Linked DNA regions of Homo sapiens: region 2 is linked to region 1. Evidence: promoter capture Hi-C in 16 types of primary human blood cells and fetal thymus (Javierre and others, 2016). All regions are on one chromosome and are shown on one strand. Each heading gives the region's core, a stretch centred on a gene start or on the middle of the fragment in contact. The rest is flanking DNA. Distances are from core to core; before and after follow the strand shown. Region 1 holds the start of CCNJ (cyclin J). Region 2 overlaps ZNF518A (zinc finger protein 518A).

The links. Contacts are between HindIII fragments. The CHiCAGO score rates a contact against its expected background, and 5 or more counts as called.
Region 2: a contact is called between a fragment that was not itself captured here and the fragment with the promoter of CCNJ in region 1, in 2 of 17 cell types (naive CD8 T cells and total CD8 T cells). The highest score is 5.3, in naive CD8 T cells.

The regions. Positions count from the first base shown.
Region 1 is chr10:96,042,205-96,048,185 of GRCh38, reverse strand. CCNJ (cyclin J) reads right to left here and starts at 4,603. Exons shown (of 6, transcript NM_001134375.2): 1 at 4,467-4,603; 2 at 3,724-3,833. The coding sequence starts at 3,792. All of the region lies in intron 2 of ENTPD1-AS1 (ENTPD1 antisense RNA 1), which reads left to right. RefSeq lists silencers at 4,323-4,892, 5,020-5,214. The HindIII fragment of the contact is 7,328 bases long and covers 1-5,903 here.
Region 2 is chr10:96,131,006-96,136,337 of GRCh38, reverse strand. ZNF518A (zinc finger protein 518A) reads right to left here. Exons shown (of 6, transcript NM_001330736.2): 2 at 3,668-3,752; 3 at 2,690-2,755. LOC124902486 (a long non-coding RNA gene) reads left to right here. Exons shown (of 2, transcript XR_007062254.1): 2 at 1-5,332. Among named protein-coding and RNA genes, the nearest start is that of ZNF518A, 3.4 kb to the right of the region's middle. RefSeq lists an enhancer at 5,277-5,332. The HindIII fragment of the contact is 732 bases long and covers 2,122-2,853 here.

The DNA of each region.
Region 1 (5,981 bases), core at 3,354-5,853:
AATGATAGACTGGATAAAATGTGGTACATACAGACCATGGAATACTGTGCAGCCATGAAAAGGAACAAGATCACGTCCTTTGCAGAGAGATGGATGGAGCTGGAGGCCATTATCCTTAGCAAACTAATGCAGGAAAAGAAAACCAAATACCACATGTTCTCACTTATAAGTGGGAGCTAAATGATGAGAACACATGGACACATGTTGCGGGGAACAACACACACTGGGGCCTGTCGGAGGGTGGGGGTGGGAGGAGGAAGAGGATCAGGAAGAATAGCTAGTGGATGCTGGGATTAATACCTAGGTGATGGGATGATCTGTGCAGTAAGCCACCATGGCAAACGTTTACCTATGTAACAAACCTGCACATCCTGCACACGTACCCCTGAACTTAAAAGTTGGGGAAAAAAAGTTTTATGTTGATACATTTTACGATAAACAAAAAAGGGAAGTTATATATTCACCTAACTTAATATTACCTAAGATAAATGGATAAAATAGTCAATGTAATTTAGTAGTGTAGCCAAAGAATACATCAATTGTTGTTTTTTGAGACAGGGTTTCCTGTAGCCCAGGCTGGAGTACAGTGGTGCCATCTTGGCTCACTGCACCCTCCACCTCCCAGGCTCAAGCAATCCAACCACCTCAACCTCTGGAGTAGCTGGGACTACAAGCGCTCACTGCCACGCCCAGTTAGTTTCTGTACAACAGGGTCTCGCTATGTTGCCCAGGCTGGTCTCCAGCTCATGGACTCAAGTGATCCACCTGCTTTCAGCCTCCCAAAGTGTTGAGATTACAGGTGTGAGCCACCATGCCTGGCCAAAAAAATTTTTTTTTTCCACATAAAGGGAAGATGCCGATTTCTCATGTAGTTCCTAGGATTTTTCTTTTCTCCTTAACTCTTTCTTTGGATCTTTACAATGGTGTAAGTGAGTTGCAACTTTACCTTTGCTGCCACCATGTGACATTTATTGAGCATCTCCCATGCAGCAGACACTATACTAACCCAGGCATAAAAGCTGGAAAAACAGTCTCAAGCCTATCTCTAGCAGGTGAATCAAATACAGAGCTTATCACACAATATAGTCACCACAGGTTATTATGGCAACACCTAGGAAGAAAATCTAACTTAGCTCAGGGATTAGGGAGTTGGGGAAAAAAGGCAAAACCAGAGCAGGTTTTCCCAAAAAGTGGCCTGAACATGGTCTTAAAGACTCCCTGGAAACACCTGGAAAACACTGATGGACTTCACTTTCTTAATGTTTCTCACAAAGCTAGAATTGTTCCCATTTGTCATTAAGGCTCCTAAAAACACTTTCCCAAACAGCCTATGACACTAACTATACACAGCAAAATAATGAGAAGAAAGGAGACAAAAGGGTGTAAGGTGACAGCTGCTTTGTAGGGGTTTTTTGAGGGAGTGGATAGTTGGCATGATTTCCATTCATTGTCATTTTCACTCTTCCCTAGTAAACACAATGCTAGTCACACCAAATATTTCTCCACAAACCTAGGGCCTAAACATAGAATACCTTCTGCAGTATCTCAATGGCAACTGCCCAAAGGAAGACCTAAATGTGGATGCTCTAAATTATAGATAAGGTTAGACTATGAAGGCAAGGATCATGTCTCGTTCACTGTTATTGCTCTAACACCTGGCATGATATCATGTATGTCATAAATGATCAACATGTTGAAGAAAAACAGATGACTATCCGACTGAATCACCAATTAATAGCCTGGAATTACCACGTCTTTTCTAGGAGAAAAGTCCATTTTAAGTTTCCTTCAGTGTATTACAAACAGTGGTCTCTCCAGTTCCACAAGTTTAAGTTTTACAGATTAATGTAAATTCTTGTATAAAGTGTTGCCAGTAAGAACCATGGTTTGCATAATGCTTAAACATAAAGACAACCCAGGGCAGTAGGCCATAGGTGGCCCAATAAAACTTTCAGTGGCATTCCTTCACACCCTGTGCTACCTTGTCCTCTGATAGTTCATAAGCAACTTGAGTGAGTATAAGGTTGGGTCTTATGCCTTGGATGCTCCAGAAACTAATCCACAAAAGCCTTCAACAAATCTAAATCTAGGAGAAAAAACAAAAAAACAAAGAACCCATGTCCAAACTCAATTGACAAAATGCAGATAATCACTCACGAATTAAAATGATCTACACATAAAATGATTGAAAAGTATGGAAATCACCAAGAAAAACCTTTTAAGTTTCATGCCAATTAAAAAATATACTCTTGGCTGGGCGCAGTGGCTCATGCCTGTAATCCCAGCACTTTAGGAGGCCGAGGCAGGTGGATCACCTGAGGTCAGGTGAAACTCCAACTCAAAAAAAAAGTACTCTTAATATCAACTAATTAATTTCACTACATACCAGAGGGATAAAAAGGCTGACACTTAAAACACTTTTCAAAATATGTGCAACTATATTAATTTTTTTAAAAAAGAAAACATTTCACATTGAAAGATGACATCTGCCAAAAAAAAAAAAGATCAAAAGTGTATCTGGACAATTTTCCAAGAAACTGCAACTCTTTCCTAACTAACACTCCAGAGATCCCATTAGTTAGAATTTTTATGTGGTATAAACCATCTCCTAGGGGGCTGAACTGTATTTTAGTGAATCTAAGAGACTGAATGTCAGAATTAGTTAAGTAGCATTTAGAAATCTCAGGCCTAGAAAAGGGTAACAATTTAAGTCAGAATTAGGTTTTCCAATCTACTTGACCTGGTCAGAAACTCAAGATAAAAGTTCATTATCATTCCAGGATCTCAACCCCAAGAGTCAGAATCCTTTTTATTGAAAGTCAGCTGTTTTGCTTCTTTCTCAATTTTCTACATTTAACAAATGGCTTTCTTTATCCAAGGTGAAACTGAGTTAAGCTAGAGATCATTTTGGATCTGGTCTCTCTTTTGGTTATCGAAGAGGCAGAAATGTCTCATTAATCTGCCTTGCCACATGCAGAGTAAAACCGTTACTTAATAGCAACAATACACAGACTTTGCTTTGTGTTGGAAAAGTATTTTTTTCCAATATCTATTAAGTCTACTTTCTGCCTTTGATATCAGCAGGAAGGGGCAGCCAACTCCCTCCACTTTAGGGCTTTTGAACAGCCCAAATCCTGAGGGGTAAGTGATAAGAAGTTATCACTTAGTGCTTACTATATACCAAGAGCAGTTTCTAAGCACATGTACGGTACTAACTTAAGTTTCACAATCGCCAGAATCATAAGGCACACTCATTATTCCTCATTTTACAGATGAGGAAATCAAGAAACAGAAATTTCACTTGTCCACGTCTCACGGCAAGTTAGCGGAAAGGCTGAGGAATTTATGTACAAAAGCGACTTAAACTGGCTGCATGCAACGGCAACTCTCGAACAAAGAGGGCTGTTCTGCCCAACAAAAATTCAGTGTATATATCTTTTAAAATACAAGATCAAATTCATGACCCACCTGGAAGCCAGAACGCCCCTTTCCACCTTCCCTGGCCCAACTACCATCTCCCTACTCATTCAGGTTGCAGGTTCTTTTGATACATCCCAGAGAAGGAGCCAAGAAGTTAATTAACCTTGAGCAAATGAGCAAACTCGCCTTTTCTGGCCCGGAAGATAGTGAGTAAAGAACCTGACTAGACCTTCTAGAGAGCCGAGATTCAGAACAACTGGCGCGACACACAGAAGGAGAAGGCAGGCCGGGCCTCGGAGTTACCTTGTAGCGAAGCGCTTGGTGAATATCGGCGGCCAGCTGTCCTCGCCACCACTGCCCCTCCAGCTCCATGGGACCCGGCGGCGCGCCCAGCCCGACGCGGCAACTCGAGTCTGTAAGACACACCCCAGGCGCGGTCACTGCCGGCTCCCCCGCGACCCTCTGCGCCCCCTCCCCGGGGGGTGTGACCTCAGGCCACCCGGTGTGGCTGCTCATCTTCACTTGACTCTTCCTCAACCCAGCCCGACCCGAGTCGTTTCCCCCAACGCCACACGCGAAGCCGGGTCTGCCCCCGCAGGAAGAGCCGAAGGACTCTGAGACTCACTGCTCGACTATGTGTCGGGCAAAAGGGGATCCACTCGGGCCCTGAGTTGCCAAAGCGCGGAGCCAGGTGCGAGCTCGGGAAGAGCTGGGGGAGGCCCGGCTGGGGCTCCCTGCGTCCGGGGCTGGAGTTCTCCCGCCCTCCCTGAGGAGCGGGGAGAGGTGACACGCTCATAGCCCCGCTGAGGGGAAACGCTCCCATGGCAAAGCCCGGGGGTGAGCGTCTGCCTGGCCGCGGGTCTCCGCATGGACGTCGGGAGCCTGCTCCTCCCCGGGAGCCCCGAGAAACGCACGTTCCGCGCGGCCTCAGAAAGGGGAACAAAAGGCCGGGCCAGCCAGGCTCTGCGCCTCACCCCGGGAGGGTCCGCTGCCCCACGCCTACCCCAGGCCTGCCGGGCCGCCCGGCCCCACGCTGGCTCCCTTACCCGGAACCGCGGCCCTCACAGCCCCAGCCCCGCCGTCGTGCGGCGGACGCCGGCCCCGCTCATGCTGCGGACAGTGGGCCGCTAAGCGCCGGCCTCAGCTAGAGCCCAGCGCCTGGACGCTCGCGCCGCCCATTGTTAAAGGACCGGCAGGCGGCTCCGCATACAAAGCCAGCGCGGGGGCACTTGAGGCCCCGCCGCTGCCAATCTCGTCTCGCGATACAGCGGGGTCGCCCCGAGCCGTCCAATTGGCGGCCGGGCCGGGCCCAGGTGCAGCGCCAGGCGGCGGCGCGGCGGCTCCCGCCTGGGTACGGTCAGCATCCCGCACGGCGCGGCGTGGCCTGGGCTGGCCTGGCGCTTCGGTTGCCGGGGCGCTCAGCCGCCACCTACTGCGAAGCCGGCCTGATCGCCGGCTGAGGTCGGCAGAGAGCGCCGGAGAAATTGTAAGGTGGATCACTGCAGTGACCAATCCAGTTAGGCCACTCACCTGCTGAGAACCTTCGATGGCTCCTCGATGCCCGCGGAGCAAAGTTCCGACGCCTCAGTTTGGCGTTTAAAAGTCTTCACGGCATGGATTCGGTTTACCTTACTTCACGTTGCACCAACCGCTTCCATCCCAGGGGCTGCTCCGTGGATCATCAGGCCCTCCAAATGTGCTTTAGCTGTTTCTGCAGCCCCTGAAGCGTTTTTTTTTTCCTGTGAAATTATGCTCTTTTTTTAAGTTCCACCTCAAACTCCACCTTTCTTCTAGAAACCTAATTAATCTCTTCCCCCTCCTTATTTTCGTTGCTGTAGGGATTCCCAAGAGCTTTGAATGAAGACATTTAAGATTACTTCTAGTAACCTTGCTTGTCAAACCCATGGTGGATGTAATTAACCATCTGTGCTCGTAAATCAGGAAACTGCAAAACTGTGAGAACACTCCGACGTCAATTGAGGTGATATGGGGGCTGAAATGTGATTAGAGGAAACCTAATCAATTGTATTTTAACCTCTTTGGTGGATTATCACAAAAGAGGTGGATGGTAACCCTAGGACAGTGAGACTGTCCACTTTTCTGAGACTGGAGATCAATCTCTTAATAGTAAAACGTAAATATTTTTAAAACTTCACCCCTTTTACTTTGAATCCTTTGTCCAAAAAGATACATGATGATAAAGAACTACTACAAAGTGATAAATACATTTTATGTGATTCTGGGTGGCATCTTCATTTGAAGATCATCAGCAGACATGTATATGAGCCGTACCCTATCCATAGACGATGCTTATACCCAGGAGAGCAGGCCCGCAGGAACCAAAGGCAAGAAAAGGGAAACTCAGAAGCTGAAGTTGGCAGATCCCGGCCTAACCCGACATAGTCCAGGGAGAAGGCTGCCCTGGCCTGTCTCTCAGTTGCAGGGTCCTCTAGAGTGAAGGTAGACACATCAGGCTAAAAGCTTCATGCCATTTTTAATGGCATTTAAATAGTGTCTACATCCTTGGGTTCCATTTCATGACTATTAAACAACTTTATAAT
Region 2 (5,332 bases), core at 1,238-3,737, 90 kb before region 1:
ATAAATCGGCATTCCAAGTTAATTGCTATTTTTAAAAAATCTTCAAGACAGATGAATAAAACAAAGGTTTTTGCCAAAATGAGTAATTTTACAGTATTTCATCACATTTAATTCACATTTTAGCATACAAAAATGAAATTATATGAAAAGAAATATACACATTTTTTCAAAGAAATCTCCATCTTAGTAGAAAGGGCCAAAATTTCTGCTTGGCTTTCCAAATGCCTCATACATAGATTTACCTAAAACAGTCACCTTATTTTCCACTACCTCATTTCCAAAGAACACATACTGTTACAGTGAAACCAATCTCCACTCCAACCTGGATCAGCCTATAATCATTTTTAACTCCATCCTTTTTTCAGTTATTCTCTGTGCCTATCAAAGCCACATTCATAAGCAGAAATACATTTAAAGTTGTATATTCTTCAGGAAATCTTCCTAAATGGGCCAACCTGCTCACTTCCTTCCCATCAAAATTCACTTAAAATACAACTGTGCATTCATTTATCTGTTTTTTCTGTTGTGTTTGCTGTATATTAATATGAATTCCTAACTAGAAGCACTTCCAAGACAAGGAATTCTTCTTGTTCTTACATTATTACTTAGATGCCAAGCACCACAGTCATTATTCTCAACACACGCTTATTAATCTGTGCACCAGAAATAAATAAAAATATGCTATATATCCACCATCCACTCAGTCTAGTACATATAATCTTGCCTATCCAGGCAGTTGCACATACTTGTACATAGTGGACACTCAAAAAAATGTTTGTAGGTTGAGTGAAAGTAGATTGAATGCATGCACAAATGATGAATAAATAAAGGGAACTCTTTATAAGGTATAGGAAAGTGGGGAACTACAGAAGGATGTGAATGATCAATCTGAAACTTTAGACCTTAAATTCATAAGGGCCATATATTCATCAGAACACTTTCTGCTGCAATCCAATTCAAACCAATTTACACAAAAAATTTTGGCACAAGGACTGAGAAGGACACCAGGATAGTTCACAAAATCAAAAGAAAAGTAGGTACCACTTACCATGTTCCCTGAGATTGAAACTGGCACTACCACCATCCATCTCCCATCTCCTTATGGCTTCACTTTCTCCCACTACACAGATGCGCTTTTCATACACGTGGTAAAGAATGCCACCAGCACCTTCCCAGATTAACAATTTCAGAGAAAAGGTAGTATCTTTGTCCTAGCATTCAACCATAAATTTCAAAAAAAGGATTCTGACTGGCTCTGCATGAGTAACAGCAATCACTGTTGCAATAGGGATGACCAAGCTCAGGTTATAAGACAGTAAGACTGACGGACAGCCCACCAACCACTCAGAATAGGGGAGGGGTGGTTCTCTAATGAAGAGATACTGAGTTGACAAAAACAATATATGACATGTCTTTTACCAGCCACAACCTTCAACAAACCAATATTAATCAGGAATTGACGATAAGCTTACTACATTTTGAAATTATCTGACTTTCCTCATGAAATGAGACCTATGTGAAGCCCACTTAATTTTCTGAAACTTCACATCATGTACCTTCATTCTAATATTCTGACACTTGTTTCATGCAGCCATACCAGTCACAACTTTAAATTTTTAGTCAGACTTTGCTCACAAGTTTTCAAGATAAATTAATACAAATCGTTTTGGTCAGTCATCACACAGCAGTCTCCTATTTACTTCACTACAACTACAGCTTTCATTCTTCATTACATTACTTTTTCTGAGTAGTCTGGGTCAAATAGTACAAACTGAATATTCCTTAACCAAAATGCTTGGAAGTAGGCCGGGAGCAGTGGCTCACCCCTGTAATCCCAGCACTTTGGGAGGCCAAAGCAGACAGATCACTCAAGGTCAGGAGTTCTAGACCAGCCTGGCCAACATGGCGAAGCCTCGTCTCCACTAAAAATAAAAAAAAAATTAGCCAGCCATGGTGGCATGCGCCTATAGTCCCAGCTACTCGGGAGGCTGAGGCAGAAGAATTGCTTGCACCTGGGAGGCAGAGGTTGTAGTGAGCCGAGATCGCGCCACTGCACTCCAGCCTGGGTGGCAGAGTGAGACTCCGTCTCAAAAAAACAAAACAAAACAAAACAAAAAAGCTTGGAACCAGAAGTGTTTCAGATTTCAGATTTTTGTGGATTTTGGAATATTTGCATTACTTACTGGCTGAATATCCAAAATCCAAAATGTTCCAGTGATGATTGCCTTTGAGCTTCATGTCAGCACTCAAAAAGTTTCAGATTTTGGAGTATTTTAGATTTCAGGCTTTTAGATTTGGGATGCTCAACCTTTAGGAAAATTCTTAGCATTCAGAATTACTTTATCTCTTCAGGAATAACACAGTACCCATGTGAATCTCGTGGTAGGAAGTCAAACAAATATTATATAGGAAAAAGTTACTTAATGACATAAACGATAACGTGGTACCTCAACTCAGCTCTACTGCTCTCTACTCAATGTACATTATTTTCTGACAAAATAAAAATTCATGCCTTTGTAAAAAAATGGCCCTGAACAGAAATCCATTTGCTGGTGAAGTTCAGGGAAGAACACGGTTATTATGATAATTAAAGCAATACTGTAAGGTGGTATAGTCTATGTCAGCTATTTCAGCAGTTACATAAATAATCTTATTCCTAATTTACGGTCATACTTATGTGTATACTTACTGCATTTAGAGGAATTTTATGATACTGTGGTATCCAAGAATCTTAGCATTTCAAAGATCCCAGGACCTATCCAACACAAAGAGTAGGAGACATCTGTGTTTTGAGGGTAGAAAAAACATGTTTTTTTACATGGGTACAATATTTTCCACTACATTTCCAAAGCTTTCCTTATAATACCATAGATTTGTTGGCATATTTTTCCTCCTTTTTTGTCTACACCCAGACATTCACATGACTGTCTTCAAGAAACCAATCATAACACTATAGTGATTCCCAAGTCCCTTTCCTGATTCATAATGAAGATGCTATTAGTCATAATATAAACACATATCAGATAATTTTTCTTTAGGTACATTGCTTTGCACTTACTAGACCAAAACCACAATCTTCTGGCCATTCATATAGCTTTGAAACATCTATCTACCACCTTTATCTCCACTGTTCATTACCCAGAAGACTTTAATGCCACTTTTCTATTCAGAAGGATGATAGTTAAAGTTATATTTGGATTTCTAATAAAATGTTAAGTAATAAACTATGAAACCAAAAATTACTTTTTTTGCTTAGATTAAAATGAAAACTCATGTTTAAGTATTTTATTTTAGCCAAAAAATAAAATAAAACTATAACTTATATAACTTATGAAAACTCATGTATATGTAAAACTACAGGTTGAGTGTCTCTTATTTGAAATGCTTGGGAACAGAAGGGTTTCATTCTTTTTTTCTTTTTCTTTTTTAGGATTTTAGAGTATTTGCATTATACCAGTTGAGCATCTCAAATCCAAAAATTCAAAATCCAAAATGTTCCAAAGAGCATTTCCTTTGACCATCATGTCAGCACTCAAAAAATTTTGCATTCTGGATTTTTGGATTTGGGATACTTAACCTATATTTTACTTTATTTAGTCCAATATTAAAACATACCAACTTACTACTTAATAGACTATATACTCCAGTATTTCAATCTTTACCATACCTCTTTCTTCAGGAACAAAAGGCACACAATTTAACACTTGCACAATGTCACAATCAGGAACAGTGATCAAAAGAAGAGATGATATCTGGAAATGAAGACCAAGATTTTAAAACTTTTGACGACAAAAACTGTTCAATTACACTTCACATTCAACTTAGGTGTATAAAGAAATGTAAAAAAAAAAAAAAAAAACTAAGAAAAAACTTCTATACACTTAAGCATACATCATTGATGACCAGTGATAACATGTCACAAATTTGCAAAAGTCACAACCTAAAGCTTAGAATCAATCTAACTCAGTATCTTCATTTATTACAAGAAAAAGAAAATGAGCCTTGCCCAAAGTCACAAAACTAGAAATAATATCTGGATCCGGTTCCAATTCAGTTATCCTACCACCACAATACTAACCCTTAATACTCATTTCTGGTATCTAATATGCCATGAAAACTGCTCACCATGAGAAGCCAATACCCCATATAGAACTGAAATACTCACAGCCTACACACCTGGGACCAGATAATAAATAAAAATTTCAAGACGGTGTTAAAACCTTTTTGTTCTGCTAATAGCACTTTGCCACAAAACCTTCAGTAGCATACCTGAAGGAATGTGGGCAAGATTCAAGTCTCCTATCATTTAAAGAAAAAAAAAAAAAGTAGTATTAAGTGCTCTAAAGTATGCAATGTCACAATGCCTCAATGAGAACAATTCTAAACAACTATAAACAGAAAAGTAAACAACAAAAATACACTTAAAGGGCATTTAAAGCATATCCTGAAGTCAAATTATAGATCTAGGCTAAAGTATAGTCCCTCTGTAATATTTCAAAATATAGAAACTTCTGGGATTACAGCATACTATTACCAGAGAGACTAGAACAGAATCCGAAGTGTGACCATGGCAAAAAATTGAAGCATTTAAAAGTTCATACATTATCAATGCACACAGTGGGTGTTCATTGTGGTTACTGTCTTTTGTCCTTCCATAAAACCAGATATAAAACGTTTTATTTGGTAATTATACTTATTTTCACGCAACAAACAGGAAACATTTGGTTGTGTAACATACCTACATTTTATTCTCCCCTTTTGTTGGCAATTTTCTGTATCTAGGGATGATCTAATTTACAGTTTCTATGGCAAAAATCAACATCGTTTACTATGCTTACCTTCCCCAGGAAATCCCAACACCCTCAAAGTGTTAACAGAACGCAATGTCTCTTTATAAATTTCAGAAAAGACAATTTTGCTGAAAGATAGTGAATGCATTTCTATAAATTTGCAGTTAAACTCAAAAAATGTTAGGAAATTTCACTGAATCAATTTAAATGTTTTAAATTAAACCTGAGGATATCAACCTTAGAGTACACTCAAATCAGACCCCTTGCTGCAGAAAAAGCAATTCAACAATTACCAGTAACTAGATCTAACATGCACACTTTCAAGTTAATAGAATTCCTATCCTGACAGTTTGGTGTCTTCATGTTTTATCACTGCGACAACTGTACAAATTCCAACATTCTTATGAATTCCTTGAACATTGACTTATTTTATTTTTCTAGGGTTTTTTAGACGTTTGACAACATACTCAACAATGTTTGCACTAAAACAGCTCACATACACTACTTGCTCTCAAATTTAAACCTAAAAAGAAAACTGAGTC